Regions from separate parts of the Homo sapiens genome. Here regions 1, 3 and 4 are each linked to region 2. The links are contacts of gene promoters, found by promoter capture Hi-C in blood cells and fetal thymus (Javierre and others, 2016). All regions are on one chromosome and are shown on one strand. Each heading gives the region's core, a stretch centred on a gene start or on the middle of the fragment in contact. The rest is flanking DNA. Distances are from core to core; before and after follow the strand shown.

Evidence for each region. The method cuts DNA at HindIII sites, captures the fragments that hold promoters and counts their contacts. A CHiCAGO score of 5 or more calls a contact.
Region 1: a contact is called between a fragment that was not itself captured here and the fragment with the promoter of CSTF2 in region 2, in 6 of 17 cell types (non-activated CD4 T cells, naive CD4 T cells, activated CD4 T cells and 3 more). The highest score is 8.3, in non-activated CD4 T cells.
Region 3: a contact is called between a fragment that was not itself captured here and the fragment with the promoter of CSTF2 in region 2, in 2 of 17 cell types (fetal thymus and naive CD4 T cells). The highest score is 6.0, in fetal thymus.
Region 4: a fragment that was not itself captured here is called in contact with the fragment with the promoter of CSTF2 in region 2 in 2 of 17 cell types (monocytes and total B cells); the score reaches 5.3 in monocytes.

What each region holds. Positions count from the first base shown.
Region 1 is chrX:101,055,840-101,058,604 of GRCh38, reverse strand. No RefSeq gene overlaps it. Among named protein-coding and RNA genes, the nearest start is that of TRMT2B, 5.1 kb to the right of the region's middle. The HindIII fragment of the contact is 4,943 bases long and covers 1-2,765 here.
Region 2 is chrX:100,819,030-100,821,729 of GRCh38, reverse strand. CSTF2 (cleavage stimulation factor subunit 2) reads right to left here and starts at 1,339. Exons shown (of 14, transcript NM_001325.3): 1 at 1,256-1,339; 2 at 125-203. The coding sequence starts at 1,313. RefSeq lists enhancers at 1,108-1,267, 1,548-1,597, 1,608-1,667. The HindIII fragment of the contact is 13,366 bases long and covers 1,233-2,700 here.
Region 3 is chrX:100,637,276-100,639,975 of GRCh38, reverse strand. No RefSeq gene overlaps it. Among named protein-coding and RNA genes, the nearest start is that of TSPAN6, 1.8 kb to the right of the region's middle. The HindIII fragment of the contact is 1,323 bases long and covers 769-2,091 here.
Region 4 is chrX:100,673,533-100,676,243 of GRCh38, reverse strand. SRPX2 (sushi repeat containing protein X-linked 2) reads right to left here. Exons shown (of 11, transcript NM_014467.3): 11 at 456-2,711. SYTL4 (synaptotagmin like 4) reads left to right here. Exons shown (of 20, transcript NM_001370165.1): 20 at 68-1,753. The coding sequence ends at 216. Among named protein-coding and RNA genes, the nearest start is that of SRPX2, 31 kb to the right of the region's middle. The HindIII fragment of the contact is 886 bases long and covers 853-1,738 here.

The DNA of each region.
Region 1 (2,765 bases), core at 138-2,637, 240 kb before region 2:
TTAGTATAATGCAGGCCCCTCTCATCCTCCTAACCTGGTTGGTGGCCTTTCATTAGTTTTACAAGGGTGGTTTAGTTTTTGGGAAAGGCTGTTATCATTTAAACTATAAACTAATTTTCTCTCAAAGTTAGCGTGGCCCATGCCCATGAATGGCCAAGGACAGCTTGAAAGTTGAAGGCAAGATGGAGTCAACCATGTCAGATTTCTCTTAATGTCATCATTTTGCAAAGGCAGTTTCAGTGACCTGGAAGCTGAGGGAGACTGTTGCATACATTCAGATGGGAGGTCATAAGTTTCTGTGCTAAGGCAAGCTATACTGCATACTGCAAAATTTTCTCAAAATATGGTCAGGGACATCTGCAACATAATCAGCTTGGATGATTGTAACACATATGGATTCTGAGTCCCACCCCACACTTACTGAATTGTCCCACCCCACACCTACTGTGGTCCCGACCCAGGAGCAGACTCAGTCCAAGAGGGCCATTTTCCATACCCCTATGATTGCATCCCCAACCAAAGGGGAAGAGGAGGTGATGAAAGGTGTAGAGCTGTGTATGCATATAACTATAACTGCCTACCAAACTATCTTTGAAAAATTCTAGCCTCCAAATTTTCAGGGAGATTGATGTGAGTAATAACTCCATCTCCTACATGTTGTGGCCGAGCTCTCATCAATTAAACTCTTTTTTTTTTTTTTTTTGAGATGGAGTTTTTCTCTGTCACCCAGGCTGGAGTGCAGTGGCGTGATCTTGGCTCACTGCAACCTCCGCCTCCTGGATTCAAGTGATTCTCTTGCCTCAGCCTCCCAAGCAGCTGGGATTACAGGCACCCACCACTATACCCAGCTAATTTTTGTATTTTTAGTAGAGATGGGGTTTCCCCATGTTAGCCAGTCTGGTCTTGAACTCCTGACCTCAGGTGATCCGCCCACCTCAGCCTCCCAAAGTGCTGGGATTACAGGCATGAGCTGCCGTGCCTGGCCTAAACTCTTTCTTTACTGCAATGCTGTGGTCTCAGTGAATTGATTTTGTCTGTGCAGTGAGCAGGAAGAACCGGTCAGGTGATTGCATCACTACATCCTAAAATCCATCTATATACAGCTCCTAGAGTTATCTTGCAGAAACATCTTATGAAAAAAAAAAAACCCAAAAACTCTTCATTAGCTTCCTATTGTTACAGGAACTAGCTCAAACTCCTCATCCCAGCCCTCCAGACCCTTTGTTATTTTCCCTGACCTGTCTATCTGATCAGCCAATGGCCAATGGCTTAAGCACCAAACTCTTATCTAGCCAGGTCTGCCTCCTCATGGGCCTTGTACAATTATTACTCATTTCCTCTTTTCATGCTGCAGTCCCAGTTCCTCTCAGATTATTCATATCCTATGCATTCAACTCAATTATCACATTCTTTTCCTTCCTTTGGTACCAAGATGGTGGCTGTTTTCTGAGACTTACCAAAGCCCCAATAGTTGTGTATTCTCACACTGAGTATTATCTTCCTATCAGGTCATACAATCTTTGAGGGTGTGGTCTGTGAATCTATCCCTCATAGCATATAGCACAGTCCTAGGTGCACCAAAGAACTTGTTTAATGGAACCAAACCAGCCCTAAATGCCAACTAATTTTTGTAAGAGTTAAAGAAAGAGGAAAGAAACATGAAAAGTGGCTCAACAGACAAAGACAGGTTTATTTTGGATAATCAACCGGAGAGGGTCTTCTGGCCGATTTTGGTCAGGAGTGCTCTCTCTTACAGACTAAGAGTATTTATTGGTTTTAGGGTGAGGGAGCTTATTACAGGCTTGGAATGTTACTGTGGTGGGGAGAAGTTTATTGCAGGGTTGGAATGTCTCTGGTTGGAGGGGAGGTTACTTGGGGCTGGCATGTCTCTGGTTGGGGAGGGGTTTATCTTATGGTTGGAATGTTTCTGGTTGGAGATGTCATTTACGGTTTATGGTCATGTTGACCTTAGCCATTAGGCTGATGCCCTTTGGATTTAGGTGTTTTTTTGTTTGTTTGTTTGTTTTTGTTTTTGTTTTGAGAGGGACTTTCGTTATTGTTGCCCAGGCAGGAGTGCAATGACGCGATCTCAGCCTACTGCAACCTCTGCCTCCTGCGTTCAAGCAATTCTTGGCCAGGTGCGGTGGATCATGCCTGTGATCCTAGCACTTTGGGAGGCCGAGGTGAGTGGATCGCCTGAGGTCAGAAGTTCAAGACCAGCCTGGCCAGCATGGCAAAACCCTGTCTCTACTAAAAATACAAAAAATTAGCCAGGTGTGGTGGCAGGTCCCTGTAATCCCAGCTACTTGGGAGGATGAAGCAGGAGAATTGCTTGAACCCAGGAGGCGGAGGTTGCAGTGAGCTGAATTCACACCATTGCACTCCAGCCTGGGCAACAAGAGTGAAACTCCATCTCAAAAAAAAAAAAAAAAAAAAAAAAAAAGGAAAAGAAAAGAAAAAAAGAAGAAAAAAAAGCAATTCTCCTGTTTCAGCTCCTGAATAGCGGGGATTACAGGCATGCACCACCACGCCCAGCTACTTTTTGTATTTTTAGTAGAGACGGGGTTTCACCATGTTGGCCAGGCTGGTCTTGAACTCCTGACCTCAGGTGATACTGCCCGCCTCAGCCTCCCAAAGTGCTGGGATTACAGGCATGAGCCTCCTTACCCGGCCTTAGGTGGTTTTTGATCAAGGAGAACTTTAGAATTGTGGTGCTTGTCCAAGATGGCGATGCTCCTGCTTGGTAAATTTTAATATGTTATTTC
Region 2 (2,700 bases), core at 90-2,589:
AGCTGTTACAAGAACAAAATGTATGTGAAAAGTCACCAGTAAAGAAAACCTGCCATTATTACTAAGAGCCAAATCTGTGGTGATTTTTAAGAAGCTCCCACCATGAAGGAAAAGGGGATCTCACCTGAAACTAACAACAGGTCCAACCTCAGAAAAGATGTCCTTCAACTGCTCTTCAGTAGCTTCATAAGGAATGTTCCCCACTAAGGAAGAAAATAGGTAACATTAAAATTCTGAGTTTATAACATAGATCTTTAGTGAGAAAGTAAACTTATATCATCAAATATAAGACTCAAAATAGTGTTCTCCAATCCCAATTCCATTGTATTTCTTCAGACCTCTTAACAAAGGAAATATACCACTGAAACTAAATACAAAATGTGTAGGTACTCTCAAATGTTAGTTCTCAGACTGATCTGACACGTGTTAGATTTTCCTTAACTTTGGTGCAAATAAATACTTTGGCACTGGTATTTACCTAAAGATCTGCAAGTCTCATCAGTGACTACAAAAAATATCAATGTTATTTAATATAATTTTTAAAACAGGTTCCTATGTATTTCCACACATACAACATTTAAGGGAGAATGACGATGAATGTAGTGAAAGATGTTTAAAAAGTATTCTGAACTACTTTGTCATGTCCCTTTCAAATGGTACTCTAAAATAATCACACGTATTTTTAAAAACAACTTATTTCAGCCAAAAAGATAATTCAGAATCGTTTCGATCCTTTTTAAAATTCCTCTGAGGAGATCTTAATAGTTCATTCATTCATTCACTTACAAGCCATCTCAGGACACCAGGTGGCCGCTACCACTATTGATGCACTAAAATGTTACAGATAAAAAGCAAAGGATGAAAGTCCTTAGGAGAGGACAGTAAGTGGACACTAGGATCTATACCCTCAGCATATAGTCTGTATTCTGGGGCAGAGGATGAGAAGTAGTACGGGACAGTGAGGAGCTGTTACCGTGAGCCTTCTCCTCTAGAGAATAATTGAAGCTCATGAAAGGAGAAACGCACAGAAGCTGAACGCTAGTCTAACTTCCCCACTGATATTGCGGAAAGCCTACGAGACCTCGGCAGAATGGGAATATCTCTTTGCTCATGAGTCCACCAGGTTGGACGCCCTACAGGATAAGCAGGGAGAACTGCACGTCCGAACCGTCAGCGGCTCCGGTAGCGATTCATGAGATAGAAGGTGCAGAGGGGAGTCCCTCCCCGAAGCTTGACTACAACGAATTCCTCTCACCGAACACAGAACGTAGAGAACGATCCACCGCTGGGTCTCTCACAGTCAAACCCGCCATAGCTCTGTTGAGTCGGCTTCCGGTGCGCCAAAGCACACTTCCGTACGGAGCACAAGCCCAGCGCTGAGCACGCTTCCGTACGGCGCGTGAGCCGGAAGGGCCTGGGCGGAACGGACGCAGAGCCCCTCCCCTGGAGACATTCTGTTAGCCGCAGGCGCGAGTTGCGTCCACCGGAGGGCTATATTCTCACTCCTGAGATTAACTCTGTTCCGAGCCAGATGCAGGCGAGTCCAGGCTAATTTGAAGGGTTTCAGCCTGCAGACTTCCTTCTTATTAATTTTCTCTTAGGTTGATGCAAGTACTCCTCAACCACAATAAAGGCGCAGCGGCTTTACCATGGTAACAGGGAAGTCCTTTGCTGACAACTGTGGGGCTTGCATTTTAGTTCCGCCCTATCAAGGGAGGGAAATGCTTGGGCCCGTCCCAGCAGCGTGCATATTATTTGCTAAACCTGTTCGTGTGTGGAGTGAGATGAGGAAAGGGCATGCCAGCCGAGAGAAGCATAGTTAAAGAAATGGGAGAGGTAAAGGGAGAACAGACCTCTGTCCTCGTGTAGTCCGTGGGTTCCATGTGCTTCGTGGTGGGGCGGTGCGGCAGGGGATTCTGGCAGGCAGAGTATCGGAAACAGAAAACGTCATTCATCGGTTTTTCCACACTTTGGTGCCCACGCGCCTGGGATATGGCATGCAGGGCAGGTCGTTGTATCATCCCGGAAAGGCAGACCCTGCCGGGGTTGGAGGAAATCCAGGGGGCACCTCAGGAGGACAGGGTTAGGGGATAAGCAAAGGAAGGAGCCAAGAGCGCTACCTTTGAGGGACTTGTCCGAAAAAGGAAGACGGTAAAATAGCCACGGAATTGGAGGCATGGACGTTTTTATTAATTCCACATGTATTAAAAGTATATGGGCCGGGCGCGGTGGCTCATGCCTGTAATGCCAACACTTTGGGAGGCCGAGGCGGGCGCATCACCTGAGGTCGGGAGTTGGAGACCAGCCTGGCCAACATGGAGAACCCCTTTTCTACTAAAAATACAAAATTAGCCGGGCGTGGTGGCGCATGCCTGTAATCCCAGCTGCTCAGGAGGCTGAGGCCAGAGAATCGCTTGAACCCGGGAGATGGATGTTGCGGTGATCCGAGATCTGCCATTGCGCTCCAGCCTGGGCAACAAGAGCGAAACTCCATCTCCAAAATAAAAGTATATGAAATATGATAAATATTTAGAAAAAATTAATAAGTGCTAGTTTACACCATGAAGCATATCACTTTAAGAAGTAATTCTGGTAAAGATGGAAAGTTTGAGAAGAGTATACCCATTTCCATGACTCTAGAGTCCCATTTGCAATCACTGTGTGACCAAGAGGACACCTTGTGTAATGGAATGGTCCAAA
Region 3 (2,700 bases), core at 181-2,680, 180 kb after region 2:
CTGAACATCTAGACGGTAGGATGTAGAATAGGTAAGTAGAAATGCAAAGCAGATATTGCAGTAATTGACTAAAGGGCTGGGTTAATGGGAGTGAGTGTGTAGTTAAGACAGTTATGGTGTTAGAGAAAGAGGTGAGGAAGGAGGGACTTTTTACTGAGTTGGGATTGAACTGGATATTCAGTAGAAGCAGAAAGTATGAGTGAAGTTGAGGGTGGGCAGGGACTAGGGAATAGGACTTGTTTAATTGGGGGGTTGATCATACTGACCTGGTACAGAGCAGAAAATTCACATTGGAAAAGCAGTAGGAAATCAGTTGAGATTGTATTGGGATGAGGGGCTTGGTAGGGATGGAGGGAGGCTGGAGGTGGCACAAGGGAGGTCTGACTTAACAGTGAGCCCTTGTTTATGTCATTTCCCTTGCCTGATGTCTAGCAATGAAAAACATTTACACCTAATCTTGAAGGTTACAGGAAATTAATTGGGAAGGGGGGCTACTAAATGTTCCATGTAAAACAAGCAGTAACAATACTTAAAGTATTTTCCTTTTTTCCTACATTGTTGGCATCAAATTGTGTTTCTGTGCTCAGAAAGAGGGAGAAATTAAGAGGTTGAACAAGAAAAAGTACTGAACTCTCTGCCTTACCACTCTGGGGCAGGTAGGGTTACTTCCTAGGTGGCTGGGCTATTGGAGTGAAGGCAAAAGCCAAACTCAACCAAAAAACCCCAAGTGCAAGGCAGAATTGGGGCAATCATTGAGGTTCTTAAGCTTCAGAGGCTCCGAGGAGTCCTTGTTTTAGGTTAAATGTCTGTGCAACAGCAGTCTTTACTCAGGTTACTCTGCGCAGAGGCAGCTGTACGTACAACAGCAGCTATGTTTCATCACAAAGTGGGCCCCATTTCTGATGAAAGACACAGAAGTTGCCCAGGTTTAGTCCTAGGCAGCTTACTTGGTCTCTTTCAACCTGTTTCTTCATCTGTAAAATGAAGGTGCTAGGTGTGTCAACCTCATAATAGGGTTCTTGTGATGTGTGCATACGAGGTAATGTGTATCAAGCTCTTAGCAATAGTGGTTGGTATACAGTCAATACTTATTATCACAGTCATTATTAATACTTTAAAGAATACATTTATCTAGTGGCCTAGGGAAATACTTCTTAAATTGCCTTAAACGGGATTAGATGCCCCTTTGGTCTGGGTTTGTACCCAAACCCAGGCCTAGGTTTGAACTAAATTGAATTTCTCGGTTTGGTGGCATTGTGGGGGTGGGGAGATGGAAGTGGGTGTAGCAGAGTAGGAGGCAATGGTGCAAGGTGTTGTAGCCATAGGAATATGAATTTCCATGTCAGCATTTGGTTTAATTTGGCACCGAGTGTTATTCAAACAAAGCAGCGTTGTGAGTGGTAGAGGAAGGGAGAGGAGGAAAGTCAACACATTCTTGGAAATAAGATGTGGCTTTTGCTTTGCTATTTTGTTTTTTCTTCAGCTACAGACATATTTCTTTGCTCTTGGGCTCACACTGTAAATCCCTTTCAGTACATATCTAAGTTTCAGAGAAACTTCTCTTTAAGATGACAAGAAGTTATCAAGACTTCCCTTGATCCTTGTTTTTAGTATAAGAACCCTTCAGTTGGGGTCATTTAGCCTAGGGAGAAATCTTTGCATATACTTAGACACCCCCCTCCACCATGTTGAATATTTGGTATTTCCTAACGACTTTACCTCAAAGTGTTTGAAGGTGTATGTAGATGTATCGTTTATCCATTCTCTCCATGTATTTGTGTATTAGGCCTTTCAAATTTTAGTAAAAATTTTAGTATAAAGCCTGGCAATGCAATAATTAATTTTCCAACAGTTGCTGCCTTGCACCTCAGACGTCTGGCAAGATGTTATAGGAACTGGTCCTAGGTCAATATTCGAAGCACAGGGAAGCTCTGTGTGACCAAGTCAATGGAACTTTCCTGTGTTCTGGTCCTGAGGTGTATGTTTAAAGCAACGTTTCAAGCAGAAAAGTTTGAGTATTCATCTCTCCTCCACAAATGCAGGTCTTTTTGCAATGGCAATAGAGTAAATAGCCACTTGTGATATTAAGCTTGTGTCAATGATGAAGGGTTGGATTGCATAGGGAACTGATACAGCCTTCTAACCCCGTTCCTCTAGAGATAACACAAACTCACTTAACACTCAGTCTCTGCCTTCAAAGAGCTGACGCTTTAGTTGAGAAATCAGACCTTAACGCACCTCCTGTGTTGTAACAACATAGACCAATATATTCACAATATATAACATTAGGTTTTAATCTCTCTGTAATCAGCTGGGTTTTGATGGGAAAAACCAGGTGGCTGGAATGTACAGTGCCTTTCTGTTTTAACATTTAAGAGGAGGTCACACTCACCAGGGATTTTTCCATTGCACTCTCTCTTTTTAAAAGTTTACAGCGAATAGCTGAACTTACATTTCACTATTATGTAAAAATACTTTCCCTCAACTTTCCAATTACTTAGGGGATAAAAAAGGAGAGGAATACTGGGGTTTTGCAAAGTCCTGCAGGTAAATTCTAAAGTCATTATTATCTTTAATACCTAGCTTAGAAATTCTTTCAACAAGTGGTGATTATTTTCCTCCATTCACATCTCCCCTTCCTAACCCATAAAACAATGTTCACAAATTGAAAAGCACACAAGTGAGAAAAAAATCAGCCTA
Region 4 (2,711 bases), core at 46-2,545, 150 kb after region 2:
CAACCCATCTTCCCTGGTGGGCTGAGAGTGGGGCCCCTCTTTAGCCTCTTCTGGTGTTTCTCCTCAGGGATCAGTAATGGGGAAGTGGTGGACTGGATGGACTCGACTGGGGAAGAAGTGAGCCTGTGGCAGAAGATGCGACAGTACCCAGGGTCTTGGGCAGAAGGGACTCTGCAGCTCCGTTCCTCAATGGCCAAGCAGAAGCTGGGTTTATGAGTCCCTGTCCTCTTCTGCAGGTCCAGCCCTGGCGAGGGCAGGTCAGAGGAAGTGAAGAAATCAAGAGCAAAGATTTATAATTTAATGTGTATGTGTGTATGTGTGTATGTGTGTGTGTGTGTGTGTGTGTGTATGTGTACAAACATGTATTTTCTGCAAATCTCATTATGCTGGCTAGAGTGATGCAGACTTGTTCTTCTTTTTAAAGCAGTCTCAAGAATAAGCATTTCTTTAAAATGTTTCTGTGTATAATCTAGTTTATTTTCAGAGTCCATTTTTTCTTATGTCTTTATAAGGTTCACTTAACTTAAAAACAGCTTTTAAAACAACTTTTTATCTTCTGTCTTGCTATCATTGTTCCTACTTCCCTAGGAAGCCCTGGCTACCTTTCGCATTAGGACCAGTCTGGGTTTTAAGGCTCTGGGAAGCAGGGTTGGTTAGTAAAGACAGGAATGTTGGGGAGAGGTGAGTAGTTCCTTCCTCTTTCTCCTCTCCAATTTATGCTTTTAACTTATTTTCTACCTGGATAAACTTCTGGAACTTGGCTTTTAAATTTAACTTTTCTAGTTTTTAAGCAGTTTCCACCTTGCTTTGGTCTAATGCTTTTCTTTGAAATGCTAACAGAATTCCCAAGCTTTTTCCAGTTCTAGATATCTTTACTAGACCTTTGGGGGACTCTTATAATGGAGCTGCTTTTGAAAAGCACTTTAATTAGATAATGTATTTTGACTAAATCACGAGGATGCCCAGTGAGAGCTTCTAGCTGATCTCAGAGGACCAGAGTGACTGAGGGTAAAGTGTCTCACAGCCCATGCTGAATTTTCTGCATTTTAAACTGATACTGCAGTCATTGGAGAGAGAGCTCCTCATTTCTCGAATGAAAGATGAGATATATTCATCCTCATGTACCACATCTGTCTTAGTGTTTGCGTCTGGGGTGTGTTATCAAACAGAGCATGGTCTACATCCCACTGTGTCAACCAGAAGAGCCAAGTGTTATCTCAATTGGCCCAGTGTTTCTCCAGGCTGGGGACTGTTAAGGGCTCTAAGGGAATGTAGACAGAGTCTCCCTGTTATTCTGACTTCCTGCTTGATGAGCTTTCAGTTCCTGTTTTTGCTATTGTTTCCTAAATTTGACCTACATATTACATGGGTGTAGTGTGTTGAGGCTTTTCAAAGAAGGGTCTAGTGAGCTAAGTTTCATCTTCTGGTACTCATTGATCAAACTGACCTTTCTATTCTCATAAGCGTTTCTACCCAAAGTTGTGTGTGGAAGGAGTGTATAGCAGAGAGGAAATCCCTTTCAACAGAGTCAGCTGCTAACTGATTTCCTATAAGCACACTGGATTAAGGGCAGCCACAGTGGTTTCTACTGTATGTATGAACCGAATGGAGGAATGTTTTCAAAGATTGATTTGGTGTGGATTGCAATTGTAATGGAAGGCATAACTTGGGATCCCGGGCTGTAACTTGCTCTTTTGTTTCCCACCCCCCTGACATGTATGTGTGCTTTAATAAAGCTTTCTCACTTGTCAAACGTTTGTGTTTGTTAGTTCTATAAATGCTTTTGTCTCTGATGTCCTCACTGTTGCTTTTCCCCTGGCTTGAAGGATAAGAACCAAAGTGATAAATGCTCTTCCCTAACCATCCTATGCTGATTGAAGAAAATTCACCTTTCCCCGCATTGCTGCCTGATACCTTAAATGCCTGATACTTTCGCTGAGCTTGATCCCTCGTCCTTTGTATTTGGTATCTAAGGAGAACACTGAGAAATCATCTTTAAAGTGGCACCACTTTTCTATCTTGTAACAAAGGAACTCTTCCTTTAGCTTTGCAGACCCTCCTATACTGGAGGAAGGAGAGAGATGTTCATACAGGAGGTGAGGGGAGACATTCCCTGCTATAAGCACTTCTTTCTGGATCCTTCAATTTCTCTGGGAGGCGGGGACTTTTTCTTTTACTCCTCCTACCATTATGTAGTTTTGAGAGAGAAATAACACAGGTGCCAAGTAACCCAGCTCAGAAATAAGGCTCTTGATTTCTAGGTAGAACCCAAGCAATTCTTGACCTCTTGTGCAAAAGGGCATTAATATATATCAAATGCTTTTTATGTGCAAGGCTTCATATACTATTTCTTTAATTTCTCCAACCACTTTATGAAGTAGGAAATCTTCCCTTTTTACAGATGAGGAAACTCAAGCCTACTGTCACGTGACAGAGTTGGGCTTTGAATCAAAGTCTGACTCTACTGCACCATGTGGCCTCCTGTGAGAATGGTATGTGTGTTATGGGTGAAGGGTCAAAGGAAGACGTGACTCATCTCTTCTAAAATATCTTAAATAAGTTCAATTTACAAAAAGTAGGACAATCAGAATGCTTTGGATATTACCTAGCCAACTTAGTGACTGTACTGCTTGTGAGTGAGTGTGTGTGTATGTGAGAGAGAGAGAGACAGAGAAATAGGGGAGAGGAATAGGCAGGATAAGAGAGAATGG